Regions from separate parts of the Homo sapiens genome. Here regions 1, 2 and 4 are each linked to region 3. The links are contacts of gene promoters, found by promoter capture Hi-C in blood cells and fetal thymus (Javierre and others, 2016). All regions are on one chromosome and are shown on one strand. The core of a region is centred on a gene start or on the middle of the fragment in contact, and the rest is flanking DNA. Distances in the headings are between cores, read along the strand shown.

Region 1 (6,188 bases), core at 636-3,135, 560 kb before region 3:
GACCACAAAGAGACATCAGTAATGTCAGAAATTCCAAGGTTGGAGTGCACAAACGAAAACTTATTCCCCTGGTCACTGTACATTGCAAAACTCTATGATATAAAGCACATGGTTGCTTCCAATGACTGTAAAAATCCTCTCTAGGCTGGGACTAGAAGTATATTCCAGGCCTTAGTGAACAAGTGATATAATCTCACTTGTCCAATGATCAGTGGTATAGTATTAATTTTATTTATGAAAAAACAGCCCTTGCATTGAGGTTCTTTTTAAAAAAAGGAGTTTCTTCCATCCCATTATCAGTTAGGGTTACCAGATTTAGTAAATCAAAATACAGGACAGCTAGTTAAATTTGAATTGCAGATAAACAATGAATACACTTTTTAGTATAAGTATGATCCTTGCAATAATTTGCAACTACTGATACTAAAAAAATTATTTGTTATTTATCAAAAAAAGTTCTGAATGAGTGGGCCTGGTACCTACATTTTAAAAAATACGGTGTTTTCCGTACAGATAATTCTCAGATCACACTTTCAAATAGCAAGAGTCTGAAGCTGTGAGATCATGAATCTCCTTGAGAATCAAGTCTTTTCCCAGAAAACACTCATATAAACTCAATACTTTCACACAACTTCAGTGAAAGAACTGAAATTCAGAATTGGCTAGAGCCTACAAACCTCATGAACCCCAAGTTAAGCACTAGCCTTAGTAATCTCATGTGGTTTACTGAAAAGCTTGGCTCTTCCACAGAAGTGAGATGAGAACAGGCTCATTTTGAGCCCTCCCACTTGGCCTACTCTTTGTCCTTCCCAACACTTCTCAGCACAAGGAGAGCATTTTTTTTTTTTTTTTTTTTTTTTTTTTTTTTACTTTCCACAAGAAATAATCCATAATCCCCTGCAACAGTATGAGTTCCCTACTTAAGTGACATGCTTTTTCTTTAGTGCCTCCCAGTTACCTCTGTAAAAGGATTGTTTGGAAATAGGGTCTGCCTGAATGAAGCCTAGAGGCTGTAAACAAAATTCCTCTTCATCAAAGATGCAAGTAAACAATTCTGGGCCAAACTGAACCACAGAGAGGTCATCTTAAATGCCCATCAAGCCATAAAAGGGTAGCCAGGGGATTGAAATTTTACACCTGTGTAAGGCAGGGAAGTAATACTGAAGTTAAAATAAAATAGCAGGCTCATACACTTAAAGATGGTTATTAAGCAGAGGTTGTCACCTTATCTCTGTGAGAACTAGTCTTGCAGATGCCTTGAGAAGAAGGAGTCCCAGCGTGGGACTCTGAGGGCCTTGGTGTGCTGACCCTGTGGCAGGGCCATTGCCCACTACACACTAGCTTTGGGTGGGAGGTGTAGAAGTTGCAGTGAAGTCCCACACTCATGGAGCAGCTGTAGTGCTGAGAAAGTGCATTAGAAGGCATAGGTTGTGTTCAGAGATAAGGCACCCATGATACCCCTCTGAAGTCCCTTTAAGGTGCTCATCCTGCCACCTGTAAAGCATCTAAGGCACCCTGGCCCCAGGTCGGGGGATGGAACCACAGTAAGGCTGTGGTATTACTGTCCCTTGGAGCTGAAATAAGTGCCGGGTAAGATGGCACTGGGACTTGGTTGAGTCACTAAGGTAGAAGTCCCAAGGCCCTCCATTAAATTTCTCCCACCTGAAAGTCTGGGCCTCATGAAGGTAAAAACTGCTACACAGGGAAGGTGTCTCTGAAGCTGCTGGAGCTCCCTGTTGGGCTGGACCAGAGCCCTTCCGTAACCTCGGCACTCTTGCAAGAGAAGGCAACCCCACTGTATTATACTCTCATGGGCTGGAATAGGCCGGAGTCCCAGGCTTTAGCGCTTTGGGTTTATAGGGATAACCACTTCTCCAGAAGTACCATGGTTAATTTATTTCAATGACTCTATTGGCTAGCCTCCTACTGGCTCTCAACCTAGCCTCATGGACCTCTTTAATTCATAAAGGTAGGCTGGCATGGGGAGAGTATTGCTCCATTTTCCTTTGGAGATGGAAGTCTTAGTATATCTTAATTACCAGACAATGGAGTCTTCATTCCTTCTTTAGATTTGCCTAACCAAGAAAACCTCAGAGTAACATTCCAAGAGCAAAGATGAACATCTATCCTGAAAACAAATAAACAAACAAGCAAAAAAGCTGCTTTCGACTACAAAGCTACAGCAGGACACTTTCTCTGCAGTGAAATGACTGAGTCAAAGGATACGGGCATTTGAAAAGCCCTCTTTTGTGTAGCCACTATGTGGAATAAAGACAACTCATGTGATATAACTGTAAAACAATTTCTTATTTCCCAGTGCCCCTTTAACTGTTTCGTTCTTCCTCTCTCCTGATTGAAAACTCCTATAGTCCCACGCGATGATCAAAATTTTAATCTTCGTTCAAAGGTCAATCATCCTGCCTTTCCCACTGTGGTACTGTTTCAGGACAAGGTCGACTTCTCCATCCTACCCATAGCACTTTCCCTCCATCTGCCCATCAAGGCTATGATTAGGCCACCTGTAAAAGTCTGTCTTGGCTTCCTCAGGCTGGAACTGCAAGGTGGGAAAGGAAGTGAAAAGGGCGAGAAAGTTCTTATTTGATTGATGTTGTCAGTGGATGGCTTCTGCTTGCTGGAGCGTGAAGCTGTTTTTTTCTCTTATGTGCATTTTTTGTGGGTTATCATGAAAGCTGCCATTGTTGGGGGATGCTTCTCTTTCCGTTTCTTTGATGTGGGAAATGATGTCTCTTCTAGCTGGTCACTGGCAGCTCCTCTTGCGACTTCTCACCATCCAGTGACCCACAGCTAGCTTCCTTCTTCTGATGTTCTCTTAGTCTTCAGATAGCCCTCAGAAAGATTCTTGATGCTCCCAGACTGCCTGCCTCTCAAGAGTGGTACAAACCTCTTCCTCAGGAAATACACTTTCTTTGGCCACAGCCACCTCTCCTAGATCAGCTTCTAAATACTTCTATCTCACTGTGTTTACATTTCTTAGTGGGAATCAGACACAAGTATAGTCCCCTAAATCAAGCTTGTCCAACCTGTGGCCCATGGGCTGCATGCAGCCCAGGATAGCTTTGAATGCAGCTCAACACAAATTCATAAACTTTTTAAAACATTATGACATTTGCTTGCAAATTTTTTTTAAAGCTAATCAGCTGCTGTTAGTATATTTTTATGTATGGCCCAAGACAATTCTTTCAATTGTCTTTCAATTCTTTCTTTTGGTCCAGGGAAGCCAAAAGATTGGACACTGCTGCCTTAAACTGAATGTAGCACATCTTGAATTCTCTATGTGGGCTCCTTAAAACCGTTAAGTGGGAAACATCTTCTATTCCTCACCCTTGTTGAGGTATCTAGCACTCCAACATCTATCTCCAAAATCCTCCTCCCAGTTTCACCTTCAACCTCCATGTACTTCATCCTCTTTGTATTTTTAATGTGTGTGAGGGATGAGTTCTGTCATTGGTGTTCAGATACTTATTTTGAAAATTTGTATTTTGTTTTAGCAACTCACTTTGAAGTGCAATATATATTGTATCTTGATTCCTCAGTCAAAATCTTCAAGGAACAGCCAATTGCATAAGAAAGATTTGCTCTTGTTCTCACTCATAGGTGGGAATTGAACAATGAGAACACATGGACCCAGGAAGGGGAACATCACACACCGGGGACTGTTGTGGGGTAGGGGGAGGAGGGACAGATAGCATTAGGAGATATACCTAATGCTAAATGACGAGTTAATGGGTGCAGCACACCAACATGGCACATGTATACATATGTAACAAACCTGCACGTTGTGCACATGTACCCTAAAACTTAAAGTATAATAATAATAAAATTAAAAAAAAGAAAGATTTGCTCTTGTCACATAATCATAATTTCATATCAGGTATAAACCTGAAGGATTTGCAGGTGATATCATTGCAACTGCCATTTACTAGCCACCCGCAATATTCATTTACTCTTGAGATATTATTCATTGGTGGCCCTATGGAAACCAGATCCTCATTTGATTTCTCATTGATGTCGTCATTACTAAATCTTTGAAGGTATGGATCAGCTTTTCCACTTCTTCCATGAGCTTCTTGGGCTCATCCACAGAGGCATAAAAGTACTGAGAAAACTGGTTGATATGGTTACTATTTTGCTTACACCCTCAAAAAATTAAATACAATGTGTTTGTTAAAGCAAAAGTTGATTGATGACTTACGTATAATAAAAGCCATACACATTTATCACAAAAAGCCCAAATTGCAAAGAAAATTAGAAAGTGGAAAAAAGTAATGCGTGGTCCTACCACCCAAAGAGGTAATGAGATAGTCGTTTTACTTAATTGTCTTCCTTTTTTTCATAATTGTAATAATAATGTACTGATCCCTGGGTCCCGCCCCAAATATTCAGATTTATTTGGTATGGGGGCATGTTCTAGACTCAGTGTTTTTCAAAAGCTCCTTAGGTGATTGCGACATGCGGCAGTTTGAGAGCTACTGCTCTAGGCGCCTGCCATTGACTTGTTCTCCATGCTTTTACTGTATTCTTGGTTAATTAGACCATGCAGAATGGATCGTAGAACCCACTGAGAATCAACTGTAATCATAAGTGTGTGTCAGCATGAGAGGGAACAAGTCTTCTAATTACTAGTTCATACTGGATGGACATCTACATCTGGCCACTCATGATGAAGGATAATGATGGATGGGGATAAGTTGGTTTCCTTATCACCATGAGGATAGCCTCACTGCTTCGCCAATCCCCAACTCTCTCAAGGCTGGCATCAGAGACTAGTTAGCTTTCCATGTGGGAGGATTTACAGCGAGTGAAATCACTGTGGCAGTCTGACTCTCTAGTAATCACAAGTCATAGTTACAAGGGTTTTTTAAATCTAGTGGCAACTTTTAGGTTGCACTGAACTGTGAGAAAGGAATTGGAAGAGTCTTGGGGCTTATTTTATGAGAAGTCTCAAGGAACTTTTATGATTGGTTGCACCCATAAACAACTTCATAATCAAAATGACTTGCTCCATCATAGTTTCAGAGACCTTGGAGGGGAGGACAGAAATGGTCAGGACCCTTCTCAATGCTTTCTCTTCTCAGGAGTCCACATATCAGAAACAGATGTGTTAGCCCTCAGATTGATGGTGAGAAAACGTGTCAGGAGACTCAGAATGAAGGCTCACATGCTCACATCACATACTGGTTTTGCAGATAGCTTGTATTATAATTTACAACAAAATTATGGTAGTTAGCCCAGCTGCTAGATCTTGTTATTTATTAATAAAGCAGTACATGTTACATATTATTTTAATATTTTGTCAACTGTATTTCAATGTTACTGGTATAATCCTAGGTTTTTATAATGTGTTTACAAACATGAACAGGCTTTTGTTTCATATTATTTTGATAAGTGATGCATGTCATTTTCATTTTTAATTTAGAGGTGATTGTGGAATTGGGAGGAGAAAACTAGCAGAGATAACTAGGAAATTTTACATTGTTATAGCTTCTTTTTTTTAATTCTATACTTTATTTCCTGTGTTTCCAGTATACTTTTTATCTGATATTATGGCTTACTATGCTCATTTGTTGCCACATTTTAATTACCTTTCCCAGTGATTAATTATTTGCTTCCAGATAGTGGGCTGGTACGATTCCCGCTGGTTCTATTTTGGAACCAATGATAAGGTACATTAACGAGGCTCAGAGTTGCTCCCACGAGACTGTTTTCCTTTTCCCATTGATGTGGCCTCTTCTTTTCACAGTATTAGAAATTGTAACTCAGGCACAATGCTTATTAGCTTATTCTCTTATCCCCAGATCACAGATGGAGATGTGGTTTTTAAAATATCTCATATTAAAAGTTCCAAAATCAAGAGTAGGGTGATGTATCACCACCCCCAGGTTGATATTCTAGGAATAAATGTCAAGAATAGAGATAGAAATTACCTATTACAAGCGGCCTAATCATAAACATTCTCAGGGCTGTTTTTCTTGGGTAATGTGCTGCAACCCTGCTCCTGAATGATTTTCTCAGAAGTACATAAGCGAGAATGGCATCTTAGAGCTTTGTTCTACCAGATAGAAGAGAAAATGAAATTTATATTAGCACTAGTGAAAGTTAATATTCAAAAAAAAGTGAAATATGTTTATTTTTGTACATTTTAACACCTCCCCATCTAATGGAGAAAA
Region 2 (5,883 bases), core at 2,517-5,016, 640 kb before region 3:
GAATTGGAGGACAAAGTTTCCAGAAAAAGGCAAAATGAACAAGGCCCCTGCGTTCCTCAGCAACTTCATTAAGAAAACCGCGACATTCAAGACAGAATAAATCTCAGCCCAGAAACTCAGGCATGCAAGAAGCATCACATATCCATTATTTTACGTAAATAACTCAGTTATTATATATTAGTAGCTGCCCCTAGCAGCTTATCTACTGGAGACTAAGGGAGTCAGCCTTCATCCTTCCTGGAGTTAGTTCCTAACACCAGGGCTATACACAGTCCCATGTAGTGGGTTGGGAGAAGGGACAGCACATCCATTTGGTCCTCTGTTCCCAAAAGATATGGCTGAGTTGTTTCCACTGCCCAAGCTGATGTGGCTGCTTGGGTTGATGAGCAACCTACTACTTCTGTATCCCACTAGGGGCACAGGAATTTGGGGTGGGGTGGCGGTGGCTATTGTCTCATCTGCTAAGACATCCCCTGCAGCCATTCCTCCCGGGGGTCCTGCAGTTTCCAAGATGGTATTTCAGGGACACAAGTCACACATACAGTCAGCCTCAGGACCCACTGACCTCTGTTTGTCTTCCTCCCGCCCCTGGGCAATCTCCTTTTCAGTCTAGAGAAAATCTGTCTTTTCCATGTTTCTTCCTCACACTGTGCCCACAAACACCTTAAACCAGAGCCACAAACTCAAATGCCTCCAGGGGCCACTCAGGGATATGAAACAAGTAGTGGGAACTGTGGCAAATTGAGTTCACCTGTCCATTTGTGGCACAGGTGCACGCGGCCACTGCACATTTATGATTCCCCCATCCATGGGATAGGGTTGATGGCAGGAAGTGGCTGCTCAAACCGGCTTCATGTTTCCCAGCTCCCTTTGCATCTAGGTGAGCCACATGACTGGGTCCCCCCAGTGGAATGTGGGCCAAGTGGATGTGTGTCACTTTCAGGCCAGGGTGGTTGAGAAATGGGTGTGCTTCTCCACTTCCTTTTTCCCATTCCACAGGCTGAAAACAAAAAACTCCCTGGCCCCTAAGGACAGTGGAGACACAGCAAAGAGGGAGCCCCAGGTCCCTGAATCACCTGCACCAGACTTGTCATATGTAAGTGAGAAATCAGCTTCTTTTGTGCTATGTCACTGAAATATGAGAGGCGATTTGTTACAGCAGCTCACATTATCCTGATTATTATGCCATCCTAAATGCAACAGCTGAAGTTCAGATCCAGCTGGTTGTTGCCAAGCAGGCAAATGAAGTTGCTTGAGCTGTCTTCACGTTTTGAAAGAAAACCCAGGAACCCAGATTTTTATGTGACATCTCATTTTTAAACATCTACAAATGTAAATTTCAGCAAAACACTGTACAGATCAATATTTTGAGGGGCAAACTCCAGCTTATCTGAGGCCTTATTGAGCCTACAGGTAACAAGCTCTCTGAAGGACTGTTTATAGTGTTCTGCCCCCAAATTTCCTCCAGTTCAACAAGGAACACCCTCAGCTAAGTGCTTGAATAAAGCAGCAGCAAAGGAGGAAACATAATTTAATCTCAAAATATTATTTTGTCCTTCTTGCCTATTTTGCACTGATCTATAAAGACAGTCCAGGCCGGGCACGGTGGCTCACGCCTGTAATCCTAGCACTTTGGGAGGCGGAAGCAGGCAGATCATGAGGTCAGGAGATCGAGACCATCCTGGCTAACACGGTGAAACCCTGTCTCTACTAAAAATACAAAAAATTAGCTGGGCATGGTGGCGGGCGCCTGTAGTCCCAGCTACTTGGGAGGCTGAGGCAGGAGAATGGCATGAACCCGGGAGGCGGAGCTTGCAGTGAGCCAAGATCGCGCCACTGCACTCTAGCCTGGGAGACAGAGTGAGACTCCATCTCAAAAAAAAAAAAAAAAAAAAAGACAGTCCAGAGGAACCCCTGCATGTGGGAGGGATCCTTCCCTCTTAGTAGATTCTCATTTAGCAAGTACAAAGAAGCTTCTTTATGAAATACATATTTCGTAAAAAGGCAGAAATTCAATTTTCACAAGTATTATTCATTGAGTACTTCTATATGTGAAAGATGCTGGGCTCTGCTGCGATTGCCAATCAGACCCAGCCATCCTGTTTAGAGAGCAGTGAGAAGAGAAGTAGGCAACATGAGCAGGGGAGAAAATCTATTTGGAATGAGACAAGATTATTTCTGCTGCCCTTTTTGTAGTTGGAGCTAAAGATCCTTTTCCCTTATCATTATTCCCAGAGAACGTGAGGAAGGGAAGCTGGGCCCAGTGGCTGACGCCTATAATCCCAGCACTTTGGGAAGCCTAGGCAGGCGGATCACTTGAGGTCCGAAGTTTGAGACCAGTCTGGCCAACATGGTGAAACCCCGTCTCTACTAAAAAAAAAAAAAAAAAAAATTAAAAATTAGCCTTGCATGGTGTCCCGCACCCGTAGTCCCAGCTACTCAGGAGGCTGAGGGAGGAGAATTGCTGCCCCCAGCTCCAGCAACCACCATTCTACTTCCTGTCTCTATGAATCCGACCACTCTAAGTACCTCTTGTATGCGGAGTCATACAGAATGATTGATCCCGGGAGGCGGAGGTTGCAATAAGCCAAGATTGCGCCACTGGACTCCAGCCTGGGTGACAGAGTGAGACCCTGTCTCAAAAACAAACAACAATTTTAAAAAGTGGGAGAGAGGCAGTAATCATAGTTTATGTAGCAAAAAGAAACCAAAAGTCAAAGTCCTATTACTTTCTTTATTCTGACCCCAACAGATAGGAAAAGATATCCATCCTACTCTCTTTACCTCAGTTTATTTCCTTGCCTACTTTGCTTCATTTTTTTATTGACAAAATATGCATAACATAAAATTTACCATTTTCAAGTGTACAGTTAAGTGGCAGTAAGTACAGTCATATTTTTGTGCAATCGTCACCACCATCCACCACCAGAACCTTTTCATCTTCCCACACTGAAACTCTGTACACATTGAACTATAACTCCCGCCACTCCCCAGCTCCAGCAACTACCCTTCTACTTCCTGTCTGTATGAATTTGACCACTCTAAGTACCACCTGTAAGTGGAATCATAAGAATTTGCCCTTTTGTGTGACTGGTTTATTTCACTTAGCATAATGTCTTCAAGGTATACCCATTGTGCTTCATTTTTTTTTTGTAGAGATAGGGGTCTCGCTATGTTGCCCAGGATGGTCTCGAATTCCTGCCCTCAAGTGATCCTCCCACCTTGGTCCAACAAAGTCCTGGGATTACAGGCATGAGCCATTGCACCTGGCCTCATTTTGCTTTATTTTTAAAGATTAGTATAGATGTTTAAAAGATCTTTAAGCTCCGCACAAGTGAAATCCCTAAAGAGGTTATTTAAGAGGCACGCTCTCTGTGGACTAGTGGGCAGAATTACACAGGGGATGCACACTGCTTCTACCTCTTACATCCTTAAAAGATTTCAAAGTGGAAAAAGCATCAGAATTTATTTAACTTTTTTTTTTTTTTTTTTTTAGAGAAAGGGGCACAACTCCTGGCACCATCTCTAACGTGTTTACACACTGGTATTTTCCACTCCCAGCCCCGCTGGCTCTGCTCATACGCGTGTGCATTTTTGGGATCAGCACTCTTCATGAGGGCTGCCTCACAGAAGGGTTCCACATGGAAGCCTGAAAACTAGCCACAGACCACTCGTTTCACCACCTGTGCAAAGTCAACACATGCCTATTTCAGACAACCATCCAGGCTGTTTGAGAACGACTTTTGTAGAGTTAATAATCTGTGGGTTGTTTTGTTCTTTCCTTTTCTTTATGAGGCCAGAGGAAATACTAAGGCAAAGCACAGAGAGAGAAAATTCAGGGATGACGGGAGCAGAAGCCAGTTCAGGATGTGAAAAGTCTTGCTTTTTCCTCTTCTTTTTCTCATGCTTCAAACTGAGTGCCAGCTCCAAAGAACCACGCACACTGCCTCAGAGATAAGCAGGGACTGTCATTTAATTGTATTGTTTGGCTTATGTCTTGTATAGAAAGGCAGCAAAGATTAATTAAAAATAACAAGAATTCAAAGCTGCTGGGGGTGAGAGGCATTTCTGTAACCATCAAAACGAACTGGGCAGGGGCAAGGGGAGCAGCTGGCTTGAGGGGAGGGAGCTGGAGGGGAGGGAAGACTGGCTCAGCATGTTGTGGTGTGTGCATCTGAGGCATATCCAAGCAGGGTGTGTGTGAAGACTTTTTAATGACGTAAGAATACGCCTCATATGAAATATCAAAATGAAAGAAAAAGCTGCTTCTCATCAGCACAACAATTAACTATCTCCAAAAACAATTTTTTTAAGCCCACCTCCTTGGAGTCACAAATTCTACTCAAACTTAGACAACAAATTATAGTCCCAAACCAGAACATCAACAGATGTGTTCAGATTCATTCATTCAACAAGTACCGTCACGCATCGCTTAACAACAGGGATATGTTTTGAGAAATGCATCCTTGGGCGATTTCATCGTTGTGTGAACATCATAGAGTGTGCTTACACAAACCTAGATGGCACAGCCTGCACACACCTAGGCTATATGATACAGCCTAAGCCTATACAGCATGTTACTGTACTGAATACAGTGAAGATTTGTTGAATGAAAGAATGAGGTTACATATACTATACCTATTGTGATAATTCTGCTAAAACAAGGAGAGGTCTGTTCCAAAGTTGATGTCTTCACCCCTAGAGACAGAAAACTGCTTATTATTATTAATTATCCTGCACCCCTTTCAGCAGAGTTTCAAAGGAGGTTTCATCTTTCCTCATTCTCAAATTCAATCTGTTCTGCTTCACAATTTTTCTGTGCTCTATCGACTTCTATCTCCATGCTGCCTGCCTCGTCCAAGCTCCCATGATCTCTTCTAGACTCCTGGGCCTGGACTCCTTGCATTGACATCACTGACTTAGAATCCAATCTCCAAACTGCAACCACAGTGAACTTTTGAAAACATACGTAAGGTAGATCATGTAGCTCCTCTGCTCAAAGTCCTCTAACAGCTTCCCGTTACATTTAGAACAACAATCAGACTCCTAATGGGCCCACAAGACCATACTTAGCCTGGTTCTTGGTCATCTCTTGGCTCAGCCCTTGCTTGTTTCTCTGGAAACTCACCAGCCTCTGCAATAGTACTTGTTTGTTGTCCATTTCCACACTAGACCATAACTTCCCAGAGAAGCTGAGACTGCACCTGCCTTTTTCACTGCTGTATCCCCAGCATCAAGCATATTAGGTGCTTGATAAATATTTCTTGAGTGAATGTACAGGGCAGGAAGAAGGAAATTAATGAAAATGCTAACAGTCTGTTGCTGGGTTGATAATTCTAAAAGAGTGAGGTGAGGATAGGCATAAGACCACCAAAAACCCCTGAAGATCCTAGGACGCCACTCTGCACCCTTTGAGAGCCTGTGGTTCTTCAGGCCCATCCTCCCACAAGTCATTTCTGCCAAGGCTGAAGGCCTCATCGAGTCCTAACATGTCGCCATGCAATTAGGATTCTAGCTCAGTTTCTTCAATGCTGAGTGAAGCTGCATGTGGAAGCTTACCAAATGATATGGTTTGGCTCTATGTCCCCACTTAAATCTCATGCTGATTTGTAATTCCCAATATTGGGCGAGGGGCCTGGTGGGAGGTGATTGGATCATGGGGGCAGATTTCCCCCATGCTGTTCTCGTGCTAGTGAGTAAGTTCTCATGAGATCTGATGGTTTAAAAGTGTACAGCACTTCCCCCTACCACCCACCACCACTTTGCCATATTAAGACGTGCTTGTTTTCCCCTTGCCTTCTGCCATGATCATAAGTTTCCTGAGGCCTCCCAGCCATGCCTCCTGTACAGCCCATGGAACTCTGCATCAACTAAAACTCTTTT
Region 3 (6,749 bases), core at 2,779-5,278:
GCTGAGGTGGGAGAACTGCTTGAGCCTAGGAGTTCAAGGCTGCAGTGAGCCATAATCACGCCATTGCACTCCAGCTTGAGTGACAGACACTCTGGCTCTTAAAAAAAAAAAAGTTAAAAAACATTTTATTAAATAATAATACATACAGCAACCTTGATATTGGCTCTTTATATTTTATTCTTAAGAAAAAATATTGGCCACACCCTAGGAATGTGTCACAACTGCAGTTTGAAAAATGCTGACATAGAGCAGCAAAGGTACATTAGTATTAGTGCTTTGTGAACTTCCTCAAGGTCCTATTTTTACTCTATGTTACTTGTTAAGTTCAGAGACAATACACTTGTGAAAGTGAACTGCATCTTTCCAGCCCTCTATTTGCACATTTCCTTGGCATTCTGAATTAGAAACAGGGCAGTCATTCTCTCTAAGGGGGCCAGTGGCAGGTGAGGGCAGCTCATATATACAAGTTCTTCCTAAGTTATACATTCATTTGTTTTGTACTTGCTTATTGGTTTTCACTGTCTTCCACCACAAGAACCTTCTTTTCTTGCATCTCAGACTAATTCTTCTTGGTTTCAGTATTTAAGGTTAGTCAACTGAAACTTGCTAATTTAGGAATACCAGGATAAGTAAGAAAAACTCTTTACCTGTGAGTAACTCATAGATTAGAAGAAACAGACGGGTGTAATAGAGTGAGATGTTGACAGTGTTCCAGCAGTAGGGAAAGATGGATGTAACTGACAAGGGCTGGAGTTGCTTCCTCAGAAGAGATGTAATTGAAAAAGAAATTACCTAATTTTGCCTAGGGTAAGAGATGGTATTCCTGGAAGATGGAACAGCATGCACCGAGGCATGGAGGCAGGAGGTAGGGAGAACAGAAAATTCCATTTGTCTAGAGTTCCAGGAGAGTGATGGAAGATGAGGCTGCTGTGCATATCTGTAGGCCTGGGGAGCGCCCTCAGGTGACTCTGTGCTCTCACTGTTCTCTGGAAGGAAGCAGGAAGGGGTAGGTTCAGATTTCAGGGTCTCAGTTTTACTTCTTTCTACTAGACTATAGCTCTACCGAAAGTCTGGAATTGTCTTATTACCTGAATCCTCACTGCCTGGTACAGGGGCTGGTATGGACCTAGTGGACATTCAGAGGGATATCAGACAATTAGCTCACCCCTGTAGCCCCACACTTGGTGGATATCTGAAACTCAGGTCCAGTCTGCGCTCTCGTCTTCAAGATGAATAAAATAAAATTGCAGCTTTTTTGAAATAACTTAGGAAAATAAATATTCTCTTTTATTGAGAACTCTTCTCAAAACTACCCCTTCCTGGAAAGATGTTTCCAATGAATTAATATCTTAAAATTATTATCATTTTACCTTCCAGATTCTACAGATAAGGAAAACAGAGATGAATAAAACATAGAAGTATAAAAATGATTGACTTGTGATATCCCAGTTTTCTGTTTCTTACCAGTGGCTGATGCTCAATAACAACTTTAGGTTTTTGATTATTTTTAAATAAATTTATTTTGGATAAGTGTGAATGTCATCAAAGAAATAATGCATGTTAGAGTTGGGTGATCCTTTTGAGCTTATTCTGGCTTATCCCTCTCATCTTATAGTTAAGGAAAGTGGAGCCTAAATAATTTTATGCAAGCTGCCCCAAATTTTTTCTTTCTTTTTTTTTTTTTTTGAGACGGAGTTTGGCTCTTGTTGCCCAGGCTGGAGTGCAATGGTGTGATCTTGGCTCACCACAACCTCTGCCTTCCGGATTCAAGCAATTCTCCTGCCTCAGCCTCCCGAGTAGCTGGGATTACAGGCATGTGCCACCACACCCAACTAATTTTGTATTTTTAGTAGAGATGGGGTTTCTCCATGTTGGTCAGGCTGGCTGGTCTCGAACTCCCAACCTCAGGTGATCTGCCCGCCTCGGCCTCCCAAAGTGCTGGGATTACAGACGTGAGCCACTGCACCCAGCCCAAATTTTCTAATGAACAATGAAAATCAACCAAACAGCCATGACTCACAGCAAGCTACCTTTTTGATGTGTGTCCCTTCAGTCTCTTAAAAATGTGTATGCGTATTCTTATACTAAAATCTTATCATACTCTTTATATTTTTGGATCTTGCCTTTTTCATTCAATATATTTTGAGGATTTTCTCCAAATTTATTCACATGTTTACTACTCGCATATCCACATATTTAATGGCTCCAAAACATCTCATTGTATGGATAAACCATGATTTAAGTGATCTCTTCCCTGTTGTTAGGTATTTAGGTTGTGAGTTTTTGTTGTTGTATTGGCAATAAAACCTTTGCATCAGTCATGAGGCTTCTTTCTAGTTATTTCTTAAGGGAGAAATTACTGGTTTGGCCGAAGGGGACGGACATGTTTAAGGCTTCAGATATATACTGCCAAGCTGACTAGCCCAGGAAAGTTGTACAGATTTGCCCTAATCAATATGTTTCATAACTGTTTTTGAAATCTTGCCAACTTTAAACCTAATAGGTCAGTATCAGTAATTCCCGTTAACGTAAGAGTTCAAATTTGCCCTAGTTTTAATCATTTAAAAATTTTTTATAATTTTTAAATGATAACAATTATGATGCAACCATGACTTTGAGAAGCCAAGAGATCTTATTCTCAAATTGTAAATGAATCCGTAAGAGCTAAGAGAGAAGAAACAGGCTATTAAATGGCCAAAGATCAAATCTGAAATGTCCAGGAGTTTTCCTGTAGGGGTCACTGTTACTGTCAATTTATGCCTGCAAGAAAACTAAAATAGTCACACATTAAAGCATGTATGCACATTTTTAATGTCTGATTCCTCTACATTTCTTAAACTGTAAAATAATAAGAACATGCAGCCAGATAGCATCGCGATACCAACTTCTTTATATAATGACACGTACCATTCCACTCAATGTGCTCCTCAGTTTGAATTTATAAAATATATGCTACTCAAATGAAAGGCACTTATGCCTGCTCTTAGTAGAGGAAGCGCTAGCTAATTGCCTAACGCCCCATTAGCATATGGCCTATACTGACTTGAGAAGGAAAGAACGTTCATTGCTGTGGCCAATAGGATCCCCTCTCCCCACCTTCCCTTTTCTGCATCAAAATCTACACAGACAAAAGTCAGATGTTGTAATATGCATTTTATCGTGTCACTTAAGTACTAAGAGGTGCTTTTAAAGTTTTTATTAATGCTGCTCAAACTTGACCCCGACGGTCCAGGATACAGGCCAAGGTGTCAGTGCGGACACAATCGCAAGGCGGCTGTTAGGCTTCAGGGCTGGGCAGGAAACTTGCCAGGTGCTACTAGGAACGTATCAGCCCTTTCTACAAAGCAGGTGTCTTTCCCATCATAAAATGCAAAGCAATCAGCCGTTCCCTTTCTCCCCAGCCCCCTCGTCCGGAGACCGAGAGGATATTTACCCTGGGCTCTTGCAGTTCTCTTATAACTGAACCCAGCGGCGGCTCCTTCTCCGAGCTCAGAGCCAGCAGGCTCAGGCCCAGCCACACTTTACAGGCAAATTGCCGAGCTGACCAAGGGCTTTGGCCAAGCCCGAGCTGGGCCGGGGCGTCCGGGAAGCGGAAGGAGCCAGTCTAGGAAATCCGGGTGTGCGTGGTGGTGAAGCTGGTGGGCAAGCTTCCACTTCAGGTCCGGGGCTTTGTGTCCCGCAACAGACGCTTGGCGCCGCTCCTCTTCCAGCCTGCTGCCGCCTTCTCCGAGCGAGTGAGTTGGCGAAACTCACTCACCTGTCGGAACCCGGTGCCTGGCGGCCAGACGCGCAGATTACAGCAAACCTTGGCCGGGACGCCCCAGCCAGGGAGGCAAGTGTGGGAGCTGCTCCTAGAGGTGCCAGCTCCCACCCCCAGCTCCGCGCCCCCTGCTCGTCCCCTTTCACTTCCAGGCGCCTTCGGCTTGGGGTGCCCAGAAGGGCAAGTCCAGCAGACGCCAGGGCTGCAGGTTCAAGATGCTCCGCCTCCTCCTGCCACTTAGAGCCACAAACGCTAGCGGGAACCTTTCCACTCAGTCTTAGTCTGCGGTCACTGCTGAGGTTTTCAGAACTTTCCAGGCAAAGGCCAGCCAGGTCCTTTGCCTCCAACCCACTCCGCGCCTACCTCCCGCCTGGGGACACCCCTAGGCCCAGGAGATCCTACTCTCCCCCGAGCACCGACGTTCCAACTCGTCTGCGCCCCCGACTGCTGTCCGGCTCCTGTGCCAAGGGGCGCGCGCATCTTCCCGGGGCCAGCAACGCTCCCAACTTCTCGACTCGCCCTCCTCCTCCCCAGAGCGAGAGTGGGGCGGGCTGAGCCCGGATCCGGGGTGCACTCGAGCGTTCCCAGCGCTCGGCATTCACCCCGCCTCAGAGCCGACTTTCGAAGGGGGATTGAGCCTCGGAGGTCCAGGCGTCTTACTCCAAAGCTCAAGTCGGCCCCCGTCTTTTCTTTCCACACCCCTGTGCCCGTCGCATGCTGGCCGGGTGAGCGGCCGGGCCGAGGATTCGGGTGCCCGGGGCCGCGTCGCCCCGTCGGGTACTGAGCTGAGCGCACCATGGCCGGCTGCTGCTGCCTGTCCGCGGAGGAGAAGGAGTCGCAGCGCATCAGCGCGGAGATCGAGCGACAGCTTCGTCGGGACAAGAAGGACGCGCGCCGTGAGCTTAAGCTGCTGCTGCTGGGTGAGTGGCTGCGTCTCCGACTCCAGTGAGCCGGGCGTTTTTCTTCCGAGCCCTCCCGGCCTCTCCACTGGCACCCGCGCGGCCCTGGAGCCCAGCGGGGTGCAGGGCGGCTTCGTCCTTCTCCCCCTCGGAGCTCACGGATGCCAGCAACTTGGGGCCTTAGGTGCCTGTTCTTTCCATCTCTGGCTGGGCGACTTGCAAAAGCAACACCTTCCCCTGCCCCAAAACAGGATAGGGACCTGTAACACTTAACCTCTTGACCGCTGTACCTTATGTGTTCCGGTGTGCCCCTCTCCTCAAAACCCCGTCCACTCCTCCGCCCGCAGCACACCCAGCTTGGGGTCTGTGGTGACCCACATCTTGGGTTCAGCGCTAGCTCTGACCCGTACGCTTTCAGTTCTAGATGAAGCATCTTGAGAATTTACCATGTGCCAGATCGTGCTAAGTTCTTAAGGGCATCACCACCTGGTGATGCGGGCAGGTGATATCGCTATTCTAGAGAATTAAAACATGGAGGCCTGGAGAACTGACCAACTTGCCCTGATTGAGAAAAGGCAAAGCCGATGCTAGGTCAGCTGTGGGGGTGAAGCCCATGCCGTTGCTGCTCCTCTGACCGTGAGCTCCTATGCCTGCCTCCCATGGGGGTCCCTCAGGCCTTTGTGTTTGCAGCGGACCCAAACCTCCCTTGCCCAGCTTGACTCAGTGTGTCCACGTCCTAGGATTCAGCTTGGCTGCCCTGGTGCCTCTGGCAGGTCTTCATCCAGCTCTTTTGGTGTCTCTGCAAAGGTCTGGGTAGGACATCCACTTTCAAACACAGAAAGAACACAGTTTAAGGTTTGCCCAAGTTATGCCATGAGGCAAGGATCCCATCTCAGACTTTCTAGAACGCTGTCAACACATTTGCTGTTTGAGGAATATTTTACCTTTTCTACCTTTCAGACCATGATATCAGCTGTCAATTTTTTTCTAGATAGCCACAAAGATTTCAACTTTTTTTCTTTCACCCCTTTTGAACAGGAATCTTCTCTTATACCATCTATTTATTCATCTTTATTCCTTGTATAGGAATCACCCTCCCAGAAAGCTTCAAGGAAAGAAAAAGTTGATCTAGTTAGTGTAATATAGAGAAGGCTCTCAGCCAGTATGGCCTTCAGACCTGGGCGGAAGAACCCCCTTATCCTTATCCCCTGGGTTTAAAGGGCCCAGTCTGGCCTTCTGGGGGTTGGGGGGGGGTGTGCCCCTCCCCACAGAGCTGGAAGTCTGTAGGTCCAAAGGGGCTTGCTACCCAGAGACCATGCTGCCCCCTCCCTCCCAAGACCTGGATGGAATGAATACCCAGCCCAAAGGGACCCATACCAGCTTCTAAGGCCTGAGCCCTAGAAAAGAAGGCAGACCTGATCCCTGGAGAGCTCACAAAGGGGCAGCTGTTTGCTGGGGCGTAAAAGTGCTTGGAAATGTGGGCTGGGTAGGAGTGGAGGGAGTCCCCGTGGGTGCCCAAGAGGCCCCCCTAGGAGAGAGGGAGCTTGGGTGGGGAAGGGAAGGGGCTCTGTTCATTGGCCAGGTCTGCTATTTCTGTGTCTGACCCATAACTTTGAAAAGTCTGAAAATTCTAAATTGTCCCTGGCCTTCTAGGCTGTTATAAAGCTACCTTTGTCAAGGGAGGAGGAATACGTGAGAATTTGCTAGCTTGATTAACACTAGAAAATAACTATGGGTGCGGGGCTTTGTACTTTTGCCCTGAACCCCACAAACCAGAGGGGTTTAGTTGCGTATGTAACTTTTTTCTTTATAAGGGCAGGCTGAACCCTATTTCATTTTGCAATGCTTTGATTTGTGTCAATGTATGAAGTACAGTGTCCAGAATATACCAGGAGCTTGACAAATGCTGGCTCTTTGTATGAAAAATTGTGTAGTCAGCTGAGCTGTACTGTATTGGTAATAAGCCTGTTTGATGTAAAATTCTCGCATTTACCCACAAACTAGGGGAGAAATGTTTGTAGGTAAATTGTTTGCTCTGAAAGTCACATTAATCAGGGTGACCCGAGGGTCTTCTTTATCTTCCCAGGCCA
Region 4 (6,666 bases), core at 1,758-4,257, 550 kb before region 3:
CTCCGTATTGACTCTACGTCCATGAAGATTAGTTGTATTTGTTGAGTTTAGAGCCTCTTTCATGCAATCAGTTTTCTCATGAGTAACTCTTTCTCTTAACTACAACTATTTCTGAGTTTGGGAATATTCCAAGGCTCTTGTTGTAGTATTCACTTTTTTTCTCATAGGAAGTTGAGAGTTGCTCAGCTCTCATGGGTTTTGTCATCAATCTTTTCCCTCTTGGATCTTCCAGAAATCCCTGAGGGTTTTTGAAGTATGGTGGCATATCTTCAGGCCTGCACAATACACAAGTATAGGTTTATGGTTGTATATGATTCTTGCTTCTATTTATATTGACGTCAAGCACTCCAGGCCTGGACAACAAAACAATAATAGAAAATTATTTTGTTTTCTATTTGGTTATTGCTTCTTGCATATATTTGGTCTGAAGTCCCACAAGGGGGAGAAGTGAGCATCCAGAAAGGACCCTTTGATTCTTGGCAGTAATGCCATCATTACAGCATACAAAATCCCTCCTTCCCAAAGCCCATACATATTGACTACCAGTGAGGGTCATGTGGATATCTACATAAGAATGAGTATTGGGGGCAAAGTATCACATAGGGAAGAATGAGGTCCTTGGTGCACCTGTGACAGCTGATACTGTAACTCAAATTAATATTAGTTTTTAGGAAAAGAGAGACTTTGGAGCCAGAAAATGCTCATCTCAAAACGGAACTTCCATATATAAATGTTTTAGGTCTGGCAAGAGGAGTAATTTTTAAAGAATTTTTCACCAGAGCTTTTTTTCCCCTTTATTGTATTTCTCAGGCAGGATGGTGGGCCAGTATTTTAATCTGTAAAAGTCATTTCATTCCTAAGAACTTGAGAACACTAATGTGTAAAATATTTGGAATTTAAATTCTCAGTACACTAGAATGTTAGTTCCAAATCTAGTTTCTCTTTTTGCTGTTTTGAAGAGAAGTCAAGGAAAAGAAAATCACTGTGGAATTCAGCTTTGGATTCAAGTGGCTTGTCCCTAGGTCCTGAAATTTACCACCTGGCCCCTCCCCATCATGGTCTCCACCAGCATATGGTCTCGTGCCGGTTCTAACTTGTTCATTTCATAAGCTCAAATCTTAGATGTGAGTCCAGTCTGTGGGATCAATTGTGGTGGGCTGGAGCTAGGGGTTGGCATAAGGGTGATCTTGTTTTAAATAATGAATATGTAAAGAGAATTGGAAACCCATATATTAGTCAGGTTGATGTAGAGGAAAAAACTCAGTGTCATTCTTAAAAATTCAAGAGCTGAAGAGGAAATTTAAAAGCTTGTGCCCAAACACTGTGCCTCCAGGATGCAGGTTTGCTTCAAACCCCAAAATGGAATGTGATCATCTCATGAAACAGGTGTTCGTCATACAGTCAAGACAGGCAGAATCTGAAACATGTCTTCTATTTTCTCTCTCTTGTTTTCTTTGTCTACCCACCTTTCCCAAGAAAACATTGAGTGTCTGCTATGTTCTTTGACTGCCAACAGCAAGGCGGTCTCGATTATACCATCTGCTGAAATCTAGAGGAATAACTTTGCTTGGAAGCAAACTGCTGTCATGACTCCTTATTTGCTTTATTTTGTGGGCATAGGCTAACCCACTGATGTTCTTGCATGTTCTGCTGATCCTTATGAGTGTCAGAAAACCAGAGTGGTGAGACAAATGGGTTTGGATTAGTCCTGTTTTAGAGGTGTTTGAGGGAGCTCCACCCATCCCAGCGGAAGATGTTCCAGGCCACAGCTTCTGAAAAAGGAATTGAAACTCCATCTGAGTTTAGCAACTCCAGCTGAGAGCAAAGAAAATAAGAAGTGAGGATGGTGAGAATAAGAGACCATAATTTCTTTTAGATTTTAATTTCAACCAAAGGAGATAGATTCTGTTTCTCAGCTTTAATTTCTCTCTAGTGAATTAAATGGGAGAATGTTCATATTGTTTCAAGTTTGGGGCATTCTTTATTGCATTACTTAGGCTTGTGGAATAAACTCCAGTGAGCCAGTCTGAACATCATGATTGTGCACAGGAAATAGAAAATAGAATAGGAGTGAATTTTTTCCCTTAAATAATCTGCAACCTTTAAGTTAACTTAATATACTGTTGTGACTCACTTCAGGGACTTCTGGGGGCAATAGTTAAACAGATTCTAGGAGGGTTCTAAGGGATAAGAGACGACATAATATAATGTCATCTAGTGGGTAGAAGCCAGGTATAATATTGGGGAAATTTCTCCAAGTCTGGTGGAACCAAGCTACTTTACAATACTGTAGGGCTCTGACCAACTGATCCTGTTTGCCTGGGACTTTTTCCTTTTTTTTTTTTTTTTTTTTTTTGAGATGGAGTCTCGCTCTGTCTCCAGGCTGGAGTACAGTGACGCGGTCTTGGCTCACTGCAACCTCCGTCTCCTGGGTTCAAGAGATTCTCCTACCTCAAACTCCCAAGTAGCTGGGATTACAGGCATGCGGCACCACGCCCAGCTAATTTTTGTACTTTTTTAGTAGAGATGGGGTTTCACCATGTTGGCCAGGCTGGTCTTAAACTCCTGACCTCGTGATCCACCCACCTCGGTTTCTCAAAGTGCTGGGATTACAGGCATGAGCCACCACGCCCAGCCGCCTGGGACTTTCTTAATTTTAGTGTCCCAGGAACCCTCACCCTATCCCTGTATGAGTGGAGGATATCCCACTGTCCATGGACCTTAATCTGTTTGCCATCCCTGGGGGATGAGAGGCAATAGGAAATGAAGATGAACGTGGAGGGGACTCTTTAGCTATCTCTGCCCACCTGTTCCCTCAGAAGGATAAAGGGAGGGGTTTTTTCATGGTCTTCTTCTTCAAATTTTTTTATTTTTATTTTTTTTAGAGAGAGAGAGAGAGACAGGGTCTTGCTCTGTCACCCAGGCTGGAGTGCAGTGACACCATAAGAGCTCACTGCAGGCTCAACCTCCTAGGCTCAAGGGATCCTCCCACCTCAGCCTACTGGGTAGCTAGGACTATAGGCATGAGCCACCGTGCCTAGCCAAGAATAGAGATTTTAGTCAACATGGTAAGACCCCCTGGGCTTTCATCAAGTGGTGTTTTGTTTTGTTTTGTTTTGTTTTGTTTTGTTTTGTTTTGTTTTTGAGATGGAGTCTTGCTCTGTCACCCAGGCTGGAGGCTGGAGTGCAGTGCTGCAATCTTGGCTCACTGCAACCTCCACCTCCCAGGTTCAAACAATTCTCCCGATTCTCCTGCCTCAGCCTCCCAAGTAGCTGGGATTATAGGCGTGCACCATCATGCCAGCTAATTTTTATATTTTTAGTAGACACAGGGTTTCGCCATATTGGCAAGGCTGGTCTCGAACTCCTGACCTCAAGTCATCTGCCCGCCATGGCCCTCCCAAAGTGCTGGGATTATAAGCATGAGCCACTGTGCCCGGCCATCATCAAGGGTCTTTTTACTTGTGGGTAGAAGTACTGCATTCTAAAACTATGCACCCACAAAGGAACTATTCTCTTGCTTTCCTGCCTCAGAACAAAGTGGAATCTACTTCCCAGAGACCCGCCAACCATTCTGTTCTCCTCTAGTTTCGCGGGGGGATTTTGGCCCCCAGGGGACATTTGTCAACGTCTAGAGATATTTTAGGTTATCACAACTGGGAGAGGTGGGTGTGCTACTGTCATTTAGTGGGTAGAAGCTAGGTATGCTGCTGAAAATCCTACACAGAACAGGTCAGTACTTCCCCACCTACCCCAACAAAGAATTATCTGCTCCAAAATGTCATTAGTGCCAATTGTGAAACACTGCTCTTCGCTTTTTTCTATGCCATGAGAATATGTATGTAAGTGAACCGGGGTATGGGCCATACTTCCTTTGCAAATACACTTGAGTGTGTTGCTTACATGTGAGGAAGCAGGAAGTCTCACTTAGGTTTCCAGGTCTTAGCCATGATTTTGAACATAGGTTTTGGGAAAGCCTTGCATTGTCTATTCTGTGTAATGATTTAAGAAGGAATAATAGGTTTCCCTTTTGCTGGTTATTCTTCATATTTGGTTCCCTCTTGTTATGATATCCCAAATCTCATATTGAATTGTACCTCCCATAATTCCCATGTGTCCTGGGAGGGACTGGGTGGGAGATAATTGAATCATGGTTGTGGTTTCCCCCATACTGTTCTTGTGGTAGTAAGTCTCACGAGATCTGATGGTTTTATAAGAGGAAACCCCTTTTGCTTGGTTCTTATTCTCTCTTGCCTTCTGCCCTGTAAGATGTACCTTTTGCCTTCTGCCATGATTGAGAGGCCTCCCCAGCCGCATAGAGCTGTGAGTCCATTAAACCTCTTTTTGTTTATAAATTACCCAGTCTCAGGTATGCTTTTATCGGTAGTGTGAAAACAGACTAATACACCTCCATTGGGAATTCTGTAGGGAAGAGTGATGAATATCAAGCTATGACATGGGTATTCCTTGTTCCTGGGCTATAGTACCATCATAATATCATGAATACTTTGCCTCCAGCCATAGCTCCTCCTCTATCCATGTAGCATCAACCTTTCTCTCTATGCAGAGTCTTTCCTACGAGTGGGAAAACATGCTCGTATTTCCTCCAACTGTTTAGCAAATAAAAAAAAATTAAAAACACAATAAAAAGCCCCTTTTCTTGATCTCACATCCTTATTCTCTTCTTCATATAATAGTGAAGCTTTTTAAAGTTAGTTGAGAAATGGCAAATTTAACACAGCCAACAAGTGTTCCATTAATATGTGGTAGTTGATGAGGTGAGCCCATGCTCAGACACAGACCAGATATGTGGCCACAAGCAAAGCATAGGTTATTGCTTTCATGCAGCCCACCCTTAGTAAATATTGCTAAGGATGAATAAAAAAATTAAGCATTGAATCACCTTTCAAAGCTCTTGCTAAAATCTGGACATGAAAACATTAAGAAAGTAAGGAAAATTCAAAAGTTCAGGATCTTCTGGGTTGGGAACAGATACTTCCAACTCTGGAAGCCAGATTCTCACCTTCCCTGGTTCCCTTACAACTAGAACACAAACATTGACCTACAGCTCAGCAATCAAGTGCTCGGAGTCAGACTTTGACTCAGTAACTAGCAACACAAAGAGTCAGGAAATCAGCGACTGTGCATAGTCAATTATCGGGATTGATCCTGGGAGAGCCCCCTCCACCTTCCAGAGGCAGTAGTGATGTTTTCTTTAGCCAGGTCAAAGGTCCAGAAGGGGTGATGAGACTACCACTGGCTAAGTTTCTTATCCAGTAGTGGGGGCAGTGTGGACTATGTGGGATCACTTCTGTGGACTTTGGATGTTTCTTGCTACGTAGCCTCTAGATCTGCTTCTTCAGCTTTCCTGGATATGAAGAAAGCTTCCAAATATCATTTAATACATTAGTTTCTGACTCAATTGCCCAAAATGTGTTTCTATTGTTTGCCACTAAGAACTCTAATTGGTACCCCGCTGAGGCTCCTTAGCCAAGTGGCAACCAAATGTGGTATAAATATGACACTGTCAGGCCCTGTTGCAAAAAGGGCAGTCAAGCTAATTGTTGAATAGCAACACCATATTTGATTAATTCCATTTCATCCCTGATTTTTCCTTCTCTGTTCACTTCTTCCCTATTGTGGTTGCTGTATCTGTTAGAATAAGAGTGGTATCACTCTTTTTTTTTTTTTGGATCTTAGGGTGAAATTTCTTCTTGTCCCTTAAGCTATACCTAAGCCTTGGGCACACAGTAATAGATGAATAAAAAGAAAAGAAAAAAAGGCAAAAGTAATAGGAAAATAAAGGAGAAATGATAAGAAATATGGATGTAAACTGCTCAGATTTCAATATTCTATGTCAGGAGTCTACAAGCATTTATTGTAAAGGATTAGTAAAGGGTTGCTATAAATATTTTTGGCTTTGTGGGCCATAGGTTTTTGTCACAATGATTCAACTCTACCATTGTAACATACAAGCAGCCATAGATAACACACAAACAGATAGGTACTGTTGTAAATAAAACTTTATTCACAAAAGCAAGTGGTAAGCTAGATTTGGCCCCCTGATCATTGTTTGTTGACCCTTGCTCAATGACATGGTAGGTGCTAGGTTTTCTTTTCTGTTTATATTTAGGGTGAATACTCTTATATTCATTCATTCATTCATTCATTCATTCATTCATTCATTCTGGAATCACTTCTTGAACACCTATTTTGTCCCACTGTCCAAGATTTCTATAACTGAAGGAGCTCACACTCTGGGATGGATCAGGTGGCAGTAGTGCCATGTCGGTGCCCTGTCCATGTTCCCTCAAGCTTAACTCTTCAGTGCATGCAGACCCAACTTCCTACTGCCAGCATCTTCATTTCTTTGCCTGGGAAATTTCTCTGGCCATGATTGTATACAGTTGTATTCCTCAAAATATTCCAGTGTACTTCTCTTGAAGGTGGATGGGCTCTGTGACTATTTTGAGCAACGGCATATACAACAGTGAGTCCATGTATTATTTGGTCCCAGGCTGGAAAGCGTTAGCAGCCCATATTTCCCATTTTGGGGAACATTTGCTCTTAGAGTCTAGCCACCATATTGTAAAAAGCCCAAGCAGTAGCATCGAAAGACCCATGTGGAAAGGACTGAGTATCAACTTGCTAGCTTTGAGAATAAAC

Evidence for each region. Contacts are between HindIII fragments. The CHiCAGO score rates a contact against its expected background, and 5 or more counts as called.
Region 1: a fragment that was not itself captured here is called in contact with the fragment with the promoter of GNA14 in region 3 in 1 of 17 cell types (erythroblasts); the score reaches 5.4 in erythroblasts.
Region 2: a contact is called between a fragment that was not itself captured here and the fragment with the promoter of GNA14 in region 3, in 1 of 17 cell types (M2 macrophages). The highest score is 5.2, in M2 macrophages.
Region 4: a fragment that was not itself captured here is called in contact with the fragment with the promoter of GNA14 in region 3 in 2 of 17 cell types (erythroblasts and monocytes); the score reaches 5.2 in erythroblasts.

What each region holds. Positions count from the first base shown.
Region 1 is chr9:78,207,606-78,213,793 of GRCh38, reverse strand. No RefSeq gene overlaps it. Among named protein-coding and RNA genes, the nearest start is that of CEP78, 25 kb to the left of the region's middle. RefSeq lists an enhancer at 2,478-2,797. The HindIII fragment of the contact is 2,297 bases long and covers 737-3,033 here.
Region 2 is chr9:78,289,983-78,295,865 of GRCh38, reverse strand. No RefSeq gene overlaps it. Among named protein-coding and RNA genes, the nearest start is that of PSAT1, 4.2 kb to the left of the region's middle. The HindIII fragment of the contact is 3,581 bases long and covers 1,976-5,556 here.
Region 3 is chr9:77,645,601-77,652,349 of GRCh38, reverse strand. It overlaps GNA14 (G protein subunit alpha 14), which reads left to right and starts at 4,028. Exons shown (of 7, transcript NM_004297.4): 1 at 4,028-4,680. The coding sequence starts at 4,557. The HindIII fragment of the contact is 2,117 bases long and covers 3,650-5,766 here.
Region 4 is chr9:78,191,540-78,198,205 of GRCh38, reverse strand. No RefSeq gene overlaps it. Among named protein-coding and RNA genes, the nearest start is that of CEP78, 41 kb to the left of the region's middle. The HindIII fragment of the contact is 3,395 bases long and covers 1,310-4,704 here.